Regions from separate parts of the Homo sapiens genome. Here region 1 is linked to region 2. The links are contacts of gene promoters, found by promoter capture Hi-C in blood cells and fetal thymus (Javierre and others, 2016). All regions are on one chromosome and are shown on one strand. The core of a region is centred on a gene start or on the middle of the fragment in contact, and the rest is flanking DNA. Distances in the headings are between cores, read along the strand shown.

Evidence for each region. The method cuts DNA at HindIII sites, captures the fragments that hold promoters and counts their contacts. A CHiCAGO score of 5 or more calls a contact.
Region 1: a contact is called between a fragment that was not itself captured here and the fragment with the promoter of HMMR-AS1 in region 2, in 1 of 17 cell types (non-activated CD4 T cells). The highest score is 6.6, in non-activated CD4 T cells.

What each region holds. Positions count from the first base shown.
Region 1 is chr5:160,070,846-160,077,835 of GRCh38, forward strand. It overlaps a transcript of PWWP2A not described here. Among named protein-coding and RNA genes, the nearest start is that of PWWP2A, 45 kb to the right of the region's middle. RefSeq lists a silencer at 724-924. The HindIII fragment of the contact is 4,000 bases long and covers 1,201-5,200 here.
Region 2 is chr5:163,489,891-163,496,969 of GRCh38, forward strand. It overlaps HMMR-AS1 (HMMR antisense RNA 1), which reads right to left and starts at 4,168. Exons shown (of 4, transcript NR_109892.1): 1 at 3,809-4,168; 2 at 3,553-3,659. HMMR (hyaluronan mediated motility receptor) reads left to right here. Exons shown (of 18, transcript NM_001142556.2): 17 at 500-662; 18 at 1,222-2,051. The coding sequence ends at 1,274. The HindIII fragment of the contact is 5,178 bases long and covers 894-6,071 here.

The DNA of each region.
Region 1 (6,990 bases), core at 1,951-4,450, 3.4 Mb before region 2:
TGCAGTTCCTACGACGTTTTATGTAACTGAAAGTAGGGGAGTGCTTTAAGAAATGTTGCTGGCCAGGCGCCGTGGCTCACGCCTGTAATCCCAGCACTTTGGGAGGCCAACGCGGGCAAATAGCTTTAGCCCAGGAGTTTGAGACCAGCCTGGGCAACATGGCGAAACCCTATCTTTAGTAAAAATACAAAAAGTTAGCCAGGCATGGTGGTACACACCTGTAGTCCCAGCTACTTAGGAGGCTGAGGTGGGAGGATCACCAGAGCCCAGGAAGTCAAGGCTGCAGTGAGCCAAGATGGCACCACTGCATTCCAGCCTGGGAATGAGACCCTGTCTCAAAAAGAAAAAGAGATGTTGCCGGGCTTAGTAGTTATTTCTGGTGCTCCTTTTTAGTCTCTGAGCTGGCCTCTGAGACTACTGGTAAGTAACATTTCACTCAACTTTCAAGCTAGAATCTAAGTTGGTGCAGGAAGACCCGGCGCAGGAGCTTTTTAGAGGCATTTTACTGCCTGAATAGATAGTGGGATGAGAAGCTGGCGGCAGGCGGCAGATGTAAACCTGTTGGAAGATACATCTTTGCAAGCATGGTCTGATCCCAAGAACTAAGCAGGCCTGCAAATCCTTTTACCACCAGTTCTGCAGAACTTGGGATGTCAAAGGGAAAGGCTATGATTAAGACAGTTGTGCAAGTGAATGGTTGCTTTAATCTTGGGAAAGATCTTTAAGAGGAAGAGTCCAATAATCCCCCAAGACCAAAGCGCAAATCTGAGACACCACGTAGGATGGGAAATATCTTGACGAGCCCTCATCCGTTTCCTCTGCTTGTTATCTGTGCTCTCTCCAGATTGCCCTTGGCTTAAGAGGAAAGGCTGGAGCTGTTGGCTCTCAGCTGCGCAGCCCCCATTCAGATGCAGCCTTATGAGCCTGCAGCTGATGGTCGCTGCCAGCTGGATTGTATGTTCCTTCCTGTTGTTTTCTGTGATCACTTCCCTTCATTACTGTGCCGGTTTCCTCCATATGCTCGTCCCTCCCCTTAAAAAATACAGGAGGGATGAGGATAGGGAAGAGAAACTCTTCCTCTGATCTTATCTGTGGATACTCTGTACTTGATACATACCCATACAATCTTAGTCAAATCTCCTTGAAGTGATTTCAGTTAGGATTCTTGCCAGCCTGCTTCCTCGGTACTTGATAGTAACAAGCTTAATCCTTCCATCACCTGGATTTCCTTTAAAAAAGTATGTGCGCATTCCACCAGAAGTGGCTGAAAAATCTGTTCCTTCAGTGAACTGCACAATTAAAAGCTGTACAGGGAAAGGAAGCTATAATTTGCAATCACTTCCTCCTGTTGTGTGCAGAGCTATCCTGACCTCACACTAAACCAGATCCATTAATGCTTCTGAAAATGAAAAATTGATTACTGTGCTTGCTTCAGCAGCACATATACTAAAATTGGAATGATAGAAGATTAGCATGGACTCTGAAAAAAAGTCAATTAAAAAAAATGGATTACTTGCTACCAGCCAGTTCAAGAGGTAGGGTGAAAATAACGTTAGCGCATGAGAATGACTGCTTACAACCCTTCAAGGGGCAGTTTATGAGCTGGGCACAGTGGCTCAGGCCTGTAATCCCAGCACCTGCGGGGGGCGAGGTGGGAGGATTGCTTTCGCCCAGGAGTTTAGAACTACCTGGATAACAGAGAAACCCCGTCGCTACAAAATAAATACTTTTTTTGTTAGCTCGGGGTGGTAGTGCACACCTGTAGTCCCAGCTACTCAGGAGGCTGAGGCAGGAAGACCACTTGAACCACAAGGTTGAGGCTGCAGTGAGCCATGGCTGCACCACTGCACTCCAGCCTGGGCAACAGAGCGAGACTCCGTCTCATAAATAAATAAATAAATAATAAAACAAAAATTAGCCAGGTGTGATGGCAGGTGCCTGCATTCCAGCCTGGGTAACAGAGTGAGACTCCGTCTCAAAAATAAATAAATGAATAAGTAAATCAAAAATTAGCCAGGCATGATGGCAGGTGCCTGTAATCCCAGCTACTCGGGAGGCTGAGGTGGGAGAATCACTTGAACCTGGGAGGCGGAAGTTGCAGTGTGCCGAGATTGCACCATTACACTCCAGCCTGGGCAACAAGAGCGAGGCTCCGTCTCAAAAAAAAAAAAAAAAAAAAAAAAAAAAATCCTAACATCTCCCCAGGGGTTTCGGCCTTGGCTGAGTAGGAACTGAAGAGCTTGGTGAGATGGATTTCTACACCTCATTTTGCCAATAAGGCTGCTGTGTGACTTTGCTGTCAAAGGTCATTGATAGAACTGATAACAGAATCCATGTCTCCTACCTCTTTAGACTAAGGCAGGTTATTAGTATAAAAACATTTCTTTTTTTTTTTTTTCTTGAGACGGAGTCTCACTTTGTTGCCCAGGCTGGAGTACAGTGGCGCGATCTCAGCTCACTGCAAGCTCTGCCTCCCGGGTTCACGCCATCCTCCTGCCTCAGCCTCCCGAGTAGCTGGGACTAGAGGTACCCACCACCACGCCCGGCTAATTTTTGTATTTTTAGTAGAGACAGAGTTTCACCGTGTTAGCCAGGATGGTCTCGATCTCCTGACCTCATGATCCACCCTCCTCGACCTCCCAAAGTACTGGGATTACAGGCGTGAGCCACCATGCCCGGCCAAAAACATCTTTAACATCACCAAGCCACTTTCCCTCCTTTAGACAGCTGCTTCTACAAACTTGCCTCACAAGGAAATAATGAAAGGGCTAACCCTGAAAGTACTCTTAACGCTTAAAGACAATGTCTTCCCACTGTTTGGCCAGCTCTCTCTTCTTCTGGCACAGTTTTCCTGAATCATACTCTCCTTTACCCCAAGCTCACTACCTTGTTGGTACCAAAGCAAAGGAATTGTTAAGGCCATGAAATTTCATTCCAAGCCGGGTGCGGTGGCTCACACCTGTAATCCCAGCACTTTGGGAGGTCAAAGCGGGTGGATCACTTGAGGTTGGGAGTTCAAGACCAGCCTGGCCAACATGGCGAAACCCCTTCCCTACTAAAAATACAAAAATTAGCCGGGCATGGGGGTAAGCACCTGTAATCCCAACTACTCAGGAGGCTGAGGAAGGAGAATCTCTTGAACCCAGGGGGCAGAGGTTGCAGTGAGCCGAGATCGTGCCACTGCACTCCAGCCTGGGTGACAGAGTGAGACTCCGTTTCAAAAAAAAAAAAAAAAAATTTCATTCCGATTAAGCAAAGATTTGGCAGCATGCTAATCACTAGAGAAAAGGATGCTTAAAAAATAACATATTCTGGCCAGGCAGTGGCTCACACCTGTAATCTCAGCACTTTGGGAGGCTGAGGCAGGTGGATCACCTCAGATCAGGAGTTCGAGACCAGCCTGACCAACATGGAGAAACCCTGTCTCTACTAAAAATACAAAATTAGCTGGGAGTTGTGGCACATGCCTGTAATCCCAGCTATTCGGGAGGCTGAGGCAGGAGAATCGCTTGATCCCAGGAGGTGGAGGTTGCAGTGAGCCGAGATCGCACCACTGCACTCCAGCCTGGGCAACAAGAGCGAAAATCTGTCTCAAAAAAATAAATAAATAAATAAATAAAGTCCAGGCACAGTTGTTCACGCTGTAATCCCAGCACTTTGCGAAGCCGAGGCAGGCGGATCACCTGAGATCGGGAGTTTGAGACCAGCCTGACCAACAGGGAGAAACCTCATCTCTACTAAAAATACAGAATTAGCCAGGGGTGGTGGCGCATGCCTGTAAACTCAGCTACTTGGGAGGCTGAGGCAGGAGAATTGCTTGAACCCGGGAGGCGGAGGTTGCAGTGAGCCAAGATCGTGCCATTGCACTCCAGCCTGGGCAACAAGAGCAAGACTCCGTCTCAAAAAAACAAAAAAAAAAACAAAAAAAACCTCTTTATTCAAATAATTTCTTATTCTGATAAAAGAATCATGGCCAGGTGCAGTGGCTCATGCCTATAATCCCAGCACTTTGGGAGGCCGAGGCAGGAGGATCACTTGAGCCCAGGAGTTTGAGACCAGCCTGGACAACAAAGCGAGACCTTGTCTCTATTATTTAAATTAAAAAAAAAAAATCTTTACTTGAAAAAGGAAAAATGAACTTACGCTTTCTTATGTGAAGGCCAGCATTGGTAAGATTTTCAGTTGCTTCTATTGGTTCCATCATTCATTCCCTCCATCTTGTAGGAGTTGTGTCTATAAATATACTGATACATGTATACATGACCAGGATCAGTATGAGTCTCCTGTAGGCCCTCTCAGATAATGAGCACATGGCTTGTTAATCTTCCCTGGTTCTCCCTGTTCCATTTTCATTAGTGAGAAATTTGAGAGAAAAAAGATATTAGCAGAGCCAGATTCCTGTGGTCTCTTTTTTACACTCATTTAAATAAACTGAAATGGGAGAATGTTTGAGATTAAAGCCTTCATGTACTCTGGAATAACAGGCAGCCAAAGGATTGCTTTTCTTGAACAGAAAAAAAAAGTACATTGACCTAAGTTTCTGGGTCAGTCCTGTGAACTGTCTGTAGGTTTTAAAAGGCTAATTTTTTCCTGATAACCAAGTGTTTCTGATTCTTAGGTCAAACCCTTGACCTCTCACTCAATGTGCTGGGCTCTTAAAGAAGCAACCATTTATCCATAAGGGCAGGATTCCTTAAAATTAAAACAAAAGAAAACAAGACAAACCCAGCAGCAGATATTTAATTACATCCAATTCTGAAGGGTAGGTTGTTTCTATCGAAAAGCTGTTATGTTTGTGCACAGGGTCCTAATTAAACTGTTCACCCTTCCTCCATCCTTCGTCATAAAGAGGTCCCATAAAATCTCCTAGTGATTAGAAACCTACAGGCTGTTCTCCTTAGGAAGCATTGCTACTGAAAACAGCTCCCTAAAGTACAACTAGTGATTGAATTCTAATAGTAAAAAAAAAAAAAAAAAAAAAAAAAATCTTTAAAAACTAACTCCTAAAAAGTAAACATAATTTTTAAATAACTAAATTTTTAAAAAATCAAAGACTTTATTGGATAAAGGTTACACAACATTCTTTAACATTTAAAACTCTGAGCATACTTAAGATGAGAAACAATTTTTATCATTCAAGTCTACAAAACAAAATAGGCTTATGAAGATTGAAATACAGACAAAAGGTAGCATGAAGCAAAGCTTAAATATTAAGCAACTAAAGCAATGAAAGTGAAATAGCAACATGGTAGGTGTAGGTTTTAAATACCACCAAGTCTCATTTTTTAAAAAATGAAAATCTGGTTTGTAACAAAACACCTTTGAGAATATGCCATGAGAAAAAAAAAATATTTATATACTTAAAACCTGATCTCTCCCAATTCTTTTGCTTTATATTATTACTTCTTGGTCATTTCCATCACTCTACACAAATAAAGAATTCTAAAGCTTAATTAAAAATCTTGATTATACACTTCATGTATCATGGTTTGGGAGAGTTATCTGGTTCTTGAAGTGAGCCCGAAAGTACTGCTGGTGTTATGTATCTGAAAGAACAAGACTGACCCAAACCAAAGCCCTAGGCCATATAGAGTAGGGCACCCCTATAGTATAGTTCATGTCATCTTTAGAACTCCCTGCTGCTACAGTTCCTGAGCTGACTTTTTCTGATTTGATAAAATATATAATGACTTCATAATATGTAATTTTCCAAACAGACAATTGTAGAATGCAATCAAAACTTTAAATTATTTGCAGTATAATTAGAATTTGCATTAAGCTCATTAGACACAAGACTGCCTGCCTTTTCTTCAAGTTGTAAAACAAATCATAGGTATATTAAATGTTTTAAAACTCACCCAGAACCTTCTGTTAATCCTGAGCCTGGGGTTATTAGGTAATTCCAAACTTACACAGTAACATTATGAAAAGTCTGACCACTTGAGCCAAGTGCTCAGTTATCTGTTACGTTGCTTCATATGAATTTTAAGGTTTTTTATTTTTTGGCATATTTTCCCTTTTTTGTAGTAAGTAATCAATATGGATTATCTTTCTGGTTTAAAAAATAAATCAGTATTGCCACTAAAAAACTTCAGTTTTATTATTATTAAAAGTACGGCACCATCAAATATAAAATGCCTTAAAAATGTAGTACTAACAGGTCCATCTGGTTTTCTCATGTTTTCTCCATTCATTAAAAAAGAAAAATTAAGGTCTTTTATATATTTACCAAAGACAAGAAAAAAACTACAGTCTCTATTAGTAAGAATTCATGCTCCATGCATGAGAAGTTTGACACTGTTTTAAAGGATCCTGTTCCTGCCACTTGTTGTCCCCCAGGGCCAAGTCCTACTGACACCTGTTGGAATTTCTTGCACTTAGGAGCGGCTCTCTATGGAGAGAGGTCCACATCAAAATTTAGACGTTGTCACCTTTTTTGAACTAGATAAAACCAGTAAGGATACAGACAATAATAAAAGGCTTTCCAACTCAGCAGAATTAAGAACTAGCTCTTGGAGTATATACATTTGCACTCCAATATCAACACTAGCCTATCCACTTTGAGTCAAAATTTGAAAGGTAAGAATGTAATTATGAAAATGTGCACAAAATGTTAAATACTAGTGGCAAATAAATATATCTTAATATGTTCTAACAAGCAAACATATATTCAAGATAATACAGCCCTGCTTTATTAAAGAAGGAAAAGATCCAAATTGTGTTTGTGGGGTGGGGCGGGGCACTTTGCCATCCTTTCAGCAGGATGTTATTTTCTGTTGTTTCTACTGGCACCTTGAAGGAAACATTGGCCTTGGCATATGTGACTATTGCTTTTCATAGAAGAGCCATTTTAGAAATACCTTTGCTCATATCTGAACTGATTAACCTAAACCTTGGAGAAAGCACAAAGTTTAAGTATGAAAAATAATTCAGCATTTCTGCATCATCCCATGCCTTTTAGGCCTGTCCAAACTGTACTGATAAGAACTT
Region 2 (7,079 bases), core at 2,918-5,417:
TTGCCTTGCTAAGCTGGGAGTGGGAAGAGGGGAAGGAGTTTTGGCTTAAACACTGCAGACTCTCTTTTTCACCAAATTTTTGCAGATTTTCTTGAATAGATGTTTCTTCATTTGCTATTTTTCCCTTAGGTCAATTTTCAGAGGCTTTAACTGGTTAATATTTTATAACTTTTAGTTTCACTAGGGAGCAGGTCAGCAGAACTTTCATGCTGTCATGCCAGAAGTCCATCTCAGCAATTACTTTTGAGTTGAACTTTTATCAGAAAAATAGCTTTGTAGCTGAGGAGGGGCAAGGAGATTTAAAAGACTGTATCTCCTTTGTCACAGCTGTTTCATGTCATTTTGTAATTCAGTCTTAAAGCCTGTGTCTAGTAGTGATTTTTGCTGTTGAGTGTGATAATACATAAACAACTTTGGAATTTGCCCGCAACATTGGTAACACATTTCACTGACATACTCTTTAATAATTGTTTATTACCTATTATTTCTTTTTACCTAGGAAGTATCAAAACTCCGCTGTCAGCTTGCTAAAAAAAAACAAAGTGAGACAAAACTTCAAGAGGAATTGAATAAAGTTCTAGGTATCAAACACTTTGATCCTTCAAAGGCTTTTCATCATGAAAGTAAAGAAAATTTTGCCCTGAAGACCCCATTAAAAGAAGGTAAGACATGAATAAATGTATAAAAGTGTCCTCTTCCTTTGGATTTGCTTTTATAGCATTTAGCAAGTCATCCATTTTATGAACTGTGAAAATTTGTTGACACCTTCTGATAAAAGCAGTTCTTACTGAGATTGTTGTGTACAATGACTGTTTTCTTCCTCCTTCTACGCTTTCTTTTCTGTATACCTGGATTCTGCCTGTTCTTCAAGGCAAATCTCAAATCTTCCTTGAAGCTTTGCATGACTATTTTGTCCCTGTCCACACACCCCAAATTACTCCCTCTATAATACCCTTAGCATTTTAACCTAAATGTCTCTTAGGTCCTTAATCATTTTCTGATTTGTAGTTTTAGAGAAGTAAATTTCTTATTTCTTGACTGTGAATGTTTGTCTTTCACGATAAATTAAAGTTGGTTGAAATGATAAATCTAAAAATTATCTTACAGAATATATTGCTTCATCTGCCTTAAAGAAGATACAAGGCCTGTTTTTAGTTTATAATGATGGATAAATTCGTTTTAATCTAGATTACTAATCCTTCTTTTCAATAATTCTTCTAGGCAATACAAACTGTTACCGAGCTCCTATGGAGTGTCAAGAATCATGGAAGTAAACATCTGAGAAACCTGTTGAAGATTATTTCATTCGTCTTGTTGTTATTGATGTTGCTGTTATTATATTTGACATGGGTATTTTATAATGTTGTATTTAATTTTAACTGCCAATCCTTAAATATGTGAAAGGAACATTTTTTACCAAAGTGTCTTTTGACATTTTATTTTTTCTTGCAAATACCTCCTCCCTAATGCTCACCTTTATCACCTCATTCTGAACCCTTTCGCTGGCTTTCCAGCTTAGAATGCATCTCATCAACTTAAAAGTCAGTATCATATTATTATCCTCCTGTTCTGAAACCTTAGTTTCAAGAGTCTAAACCCCAGATTCTTCAGCTTGATCCTGGAGGTCTTTTCTAGTCTGAGCTTCTTTAGCTAGGCTAAAACACCTTGGCTTGTTATTGCCTCTACTTTGATTCTGATAATGCTCACTTGGTCCTACCTATTATCCTTCTACTTGTCCAGTTCAAATAAGAAATAAGGACAAGCCTAACTTCATAGAAACCTCTCTATTTTTAATCAGTTGTTTAATAATTTACAGGTTCTTAGGCTCCATCCTGTTTGTATGAAATTATAATCTGTGGATTGGCCTTTAAGCCTGCATTCTTAACAAACTCTTCAGTTAATTCTTAGATACACTAAAAATCTGAGAAACTCTACATGTAACTATTTCTTCAGAGTTTGTCATATACTGCTTGTCATCTGCATGTCTACTCAGCATTTGATTAACATTTGTGTAATATGAAATAAAATTACACAGTAAGTCATTTAACCAATTAATTTTTCAGCTTGTATTTTATGAAGTTACATTCATGCTTCTATGTAAGATGTATTTATCATCTCTACCCTACCCACACCACCTTGTCCCCAGAATCACAAAAGATACTGTTTGGAAAGTGGTAAATCTCTCTCTAAAATGCCTGTTTTGCACATATCATTGGTATGATATTTATAAGCTACCTTTTTTATAATGTGTTCTCACTGATGGCTCAACAGGGACTATCAGTCAGAATTGCTTTTCATTATTATTTTATTAGATCTTAATACATGGTTGAATTTTAAAATACAGTTTTTTAAATTAAGTTCAGAAGAAACGTAGAAATTAGAAAAATTGTCTAATAAAATAAAATGGTTTAATGGGCTGGGCCCAGTGGCTCACGCCTATAATCCCAACACTTTGGGAGGCTGAGGCAGGTGGAATTCAAGACCAGCCTGAGCAACATAGTGATACCTCATCTCTAAAAAATATATAAATAAATAATAAAATGCTTCAGGACCTCTACTTTTAGCCAACATGGGGTAACAAGATGAACAACCAGGTGCACTGCCCAAAGTTCTGCCCACTGGGAGGATTTCTCTTTACCACTATCCTTCAGGGATGTCCCAGAGAAGGGCTGGTGTACTATGGCTATCCACTTTCAGGTGATGCCTACATATCACACAGAACCATCTATAAACTAGGCCCATGTTGTTTCTTCCTGTCAACTCATCATAGGGAACTCTCCATGAGCTTGGGAGAAAAAAGGCAAGGTAGCAGGAACAGGGACCATGGGCATTTGGGTCACTTCTTCATGTAACTTGCTTTTGCCTTCAGGTCCTGCCTGGGCCCAGTCACATACATAACACGTTCTTTGATGATGTACTCCTGCTGTCCACACCCAGCATTATGGCTTGTGGGTCAGATAACACCCAGCTCATGATGGGCAGCTCAGGTCGCATGGTAACTTAATTGACCACGGTAAGCATTCAGTCCCTACTGAAGCCCAGCAGTAGGCCCAGAGCTGTTTCTCAAAAGAGTAGTTATCTGCATAGGATAACAGGTCTTTCTTCAAAATACTAAGGGTCTGCACTGAGATTCATCTATGTGGGCCTGCCAAAGGTTCCAACAGCATCTCTATCTGCCACTGACACTTCAAATACCACTGGATCTGCAAGTTCATATGTCCCAAGCAACAAAGCCGCTTACACAATAGCCTGGACCTATTGCAGAACCTTTCCTATTCTGAGTCCTACTCCAAACTAGCAGCTTTTCAAGTCACTCAGTAAATGGGCCAGAGTAACAAACTCAAATGAGGAAACGTCTTCAAAATCCAAAGAGGCCTGCCGCATGTCATGCCTCTTCTGGTTGTAGGAGGGGGCAGATGCAAAAACTTACCTTAGAAGGGGTATCTCAACATGCCTCATACCACTGGACCCCTAGAAATTTTACTGAGACATGAAAAAGCCTTTGAATTTTTGTTGGATTTACTTCCCACTTCTGACATGCAAATGTCTTACCAATAGGTCTGGAGTAGTTGCTATGTCTCACTCATTAGGTCCAGTGAGCATAATGTCGTCAATGTAATGGACCAATGTGATGTGGAAAGAAAAGGCAATCAAGATTCCTGTGAACAAAATTAGGACAGGGCTGGTGAGTTGATATGCCCTGAGGTAGGACATGAAGGTGCATTTCTAGCCTTGCTAGCTAAAAGCAAACTGCTTCTGGTCGGCCTTATAGACAGGGATGGAGAGAAAGGCATTTGCCAGATCATACCAGGTAGCTGCATACCAGGAACCAGGAGTTGTGTTAATTTGCTCAAGCAATACATCTGGTACTGTAGCTGCAATTGGAGTCACCACCTAGTTAAGTTTGTGATAATCCATCTGTCTTCTGCCCAGGCTAAATAGGCGAGTTGAATGGACATATGGTAGGAATCACCACCCCGCCTTCCTTCAAGTACTTATGGTGGCACTAATCTCTTCAGTCCCTATAGGAATTGAGCATTGCTTTTGGTTTACTATTTTCCTAAGTACAGATAGTTCTAGTGGCTTCTACTTGGCCTTTTCCACCATAATAGCCCTCACTCCATAGGTAAGGAAACCAATGTGTGGATTATTCTGTCAGCTGCTGACTGTATTCTAATTATACATTCTAGAACTAGGGGATAACCACAGGATAGGTTCAGGAATTCACTGGGCCCATTGTGAGATGGAACTAAGCTAAAACTCTGCTGATCACCTGACCTCCATAAGCTGCTACCCTGACAGTAGCACTTTGGATCTCCTGAAATTAGTGTCACTTCAGAGAGCCAGTGTCCACTAGTTCACAAAAGATCTGATTATTCCCTTTTTCTAATGCACAGTTACGTTGGTAAAGGTTGTACATCCCTTTGCGGAGGACTAGGAGAAAGACTAACAGTATAAACATTTGGTTATGGACCAGGGTCCCTTTGAGGTCCTCCCCTTCAATCAAAGGGTTTTGGGCTCTATAAAGTGGCTCAAGTTTGGGAATTAAGGGACCACGATTCTGTTTTTATGATTCGAGTTCAACTTTCGTCACTTGACTTAGAAGTTTTCTGCTTATACAGATCAAGTTAAGACTTCAGTAGGCTTCCTATCTATTTCACGTCTAGGAAAACCATGATCAACTAGCCAAAGCATAGGTCTACAAGTGAGATTATTCTAATTGTTCCTTTGGCTCTGTCATTATGATAACCACTTCACCTTGCCTTTGGTGGTTGAGTCCCATTACTTGACCCTTGCCACCCTGGGATCCTTTACTTCCATTATATTTAGGTTTTCCAGTTCAGTGACTGCAGTGAGCTCTGGCCTACAGAGAAGAGCCATCACAGAGTTCTGAAAAAGATGCTGGAGCTCTCCTCGCAAATTTCTTTCTCATAGTATTGGTGAAAGGTATGCTTTCTTGACCTTCCCAGTGTGGATGAGTAGTTCTTTTTTTTTTTTTTTTTTTGAGACGGAGTCTCGCTCTGTCGCCCAGGCCGGACTGCGGACTGCAGTGGCGCAATCTCTGCTCACTGCAAGCTCCGCTTCCCGGGTTCACGCCATTCTCCTGCCTCAGCCTCCCGAGTAGCTGGGACTACAGGCGCCCGCCACCGCGCCCGGCTAATTTTTTGTATTTTTAGTAGAGACGGGGTTTCACCTTGTTAGCCAGGATGGTCTCGATCTCCTGACCTCATGATCCACCCGAGATGAGTAGTTCTTAAGTGAAAAATCTAATTTCCCAATATTCCTAAACCTTTTAATCCCATCCTCTAGATTAAACCAAGGCATGTCCAGCACTTCCAATTCATCTTTTCCATGTTTTAGTAAGCCAATCAAACTGTGAGCACCCTTTCTAACTCCCCAAGCTGCAATGTTAAATGCAGAATCTTGGCTTAGTGAGCCCATGTCAATAAATTTGACCTGATCCAACTTTATGTTCCTTCCATCATTTTCCAACACCTTTATTATCCATTCCGACATATGTTCCCAGATTTTTGTCTGTATAAATTAGAGACTTTGAGTAACTCTTTGGAGTATAGCACATCTCTTCATAGGTAACACTTTGTTCCTGTCTAGTTTCAGGTCTAGAAGCAAAGAAGGGTGGTGGAGTTGGGTCTGGAGGAGAACCAACATTGTCTTGCATATCAACTGCCTCAAAGGAGGCCATTACAATTTCCTCAGGCAATGCAGTGTTAATCATCACAGACAGGTTGGAGGGTACTATCACTGGAAATGGAGAAGCTGCTTCCAATGGGGTTGAGAAGCCTCTCCACTAGCAAAGAAGACTCATCAGAATTTAGGGGCTTAATGTCCCCAGCTTCATCAAGGTCTTCCCATATGTCCCAATCCTAATTTACAGAATCCCATTTTTTTTTCAGTAAGTGCCCTCCTTTTGACAATAGTCACTCTGCAAGGCTGGAATTCTAATTTGTGTTGTAATTCAGCCAGTCACAGGATGAGATGCTGTGTTTGATTTTCAACAGTCTCAGCTCTGGGGCTACAGGAGATAGGGTTTTCTTCAGGGTGCACATAGAAGCTTTCAGATTATTTATGGAGCACTTGAGCTGGGAATAAAAATCCCTACACTCACTTTTGCACCACTTTATCCAGTGACATTAGAAACAACCAACTGTCCTCATTATACTCATTATGAGGCAGAATAGGTAGTCAAGGAAGTAAACATGCCCTTGGTATGCAGCAACTGTGGCTTACTGCACCACATACTTTAACAAAATAAGCCCCAGCATTCACATTGTAGTCAAGCTAATTCAAGCAAAGCTATCTTCAGTAGGAAATTTCCCTGTATATAGCATATACATTTTGATTTTACCTATCCTCAGCCTGACCCTTTGTTCATTATAATAGTAAAAAACCCACTGCTGGGTGGAGATTTAAGATGCTAATGAGACATGCGATATATGAACAAGCATGTACAGCTACTGCTCTTGTGCACCCAGAGGACCACCCAGAACATGCTTACTAGTAACACCTCTTCCCACCCCCTTATGATTAATCATGTAAGACTCCCAGAAAGGGAGTCTCCCTAGTGCCAGTCTTTATGATCTCATCCTTACCAGCAGCCTGTACTGAATCCTCTCTCTAAGGATGTACTATCTATTGTGCACTTAACTTTCAAAATATTCTTTTTCCTTTGCAATGAATTGTTTAATGCTGCAACTTCTCCACTCTGTGTCTCTTAAGTTCTTTTAGACTAAGAAGACAAGAACAAAGGTTTCATAACAGCCATCAACAATTAGTTTTCCAAAAATCAAAAAAAAATATCATATACACAGTTAGCCAGCTCCTTGCCTCTTATAACTGGCTGATTAGAAGTGGCCAATGCAATTATTTTGTGTATTTCTATTGCCAGATCATGCTATGCACTCAGTGCTCACTTTACTAACTGGAAAGAATCATTAACACGTTTAATAAGATCAGAGTACCAATCCCAAGAACCCTGGAACCATCAGGAAACTCATCCTTAACATTCTGTCCCTCTAGAACAACTCTTGGTACCAAAATCTGTATTAGTCACAGTTCTC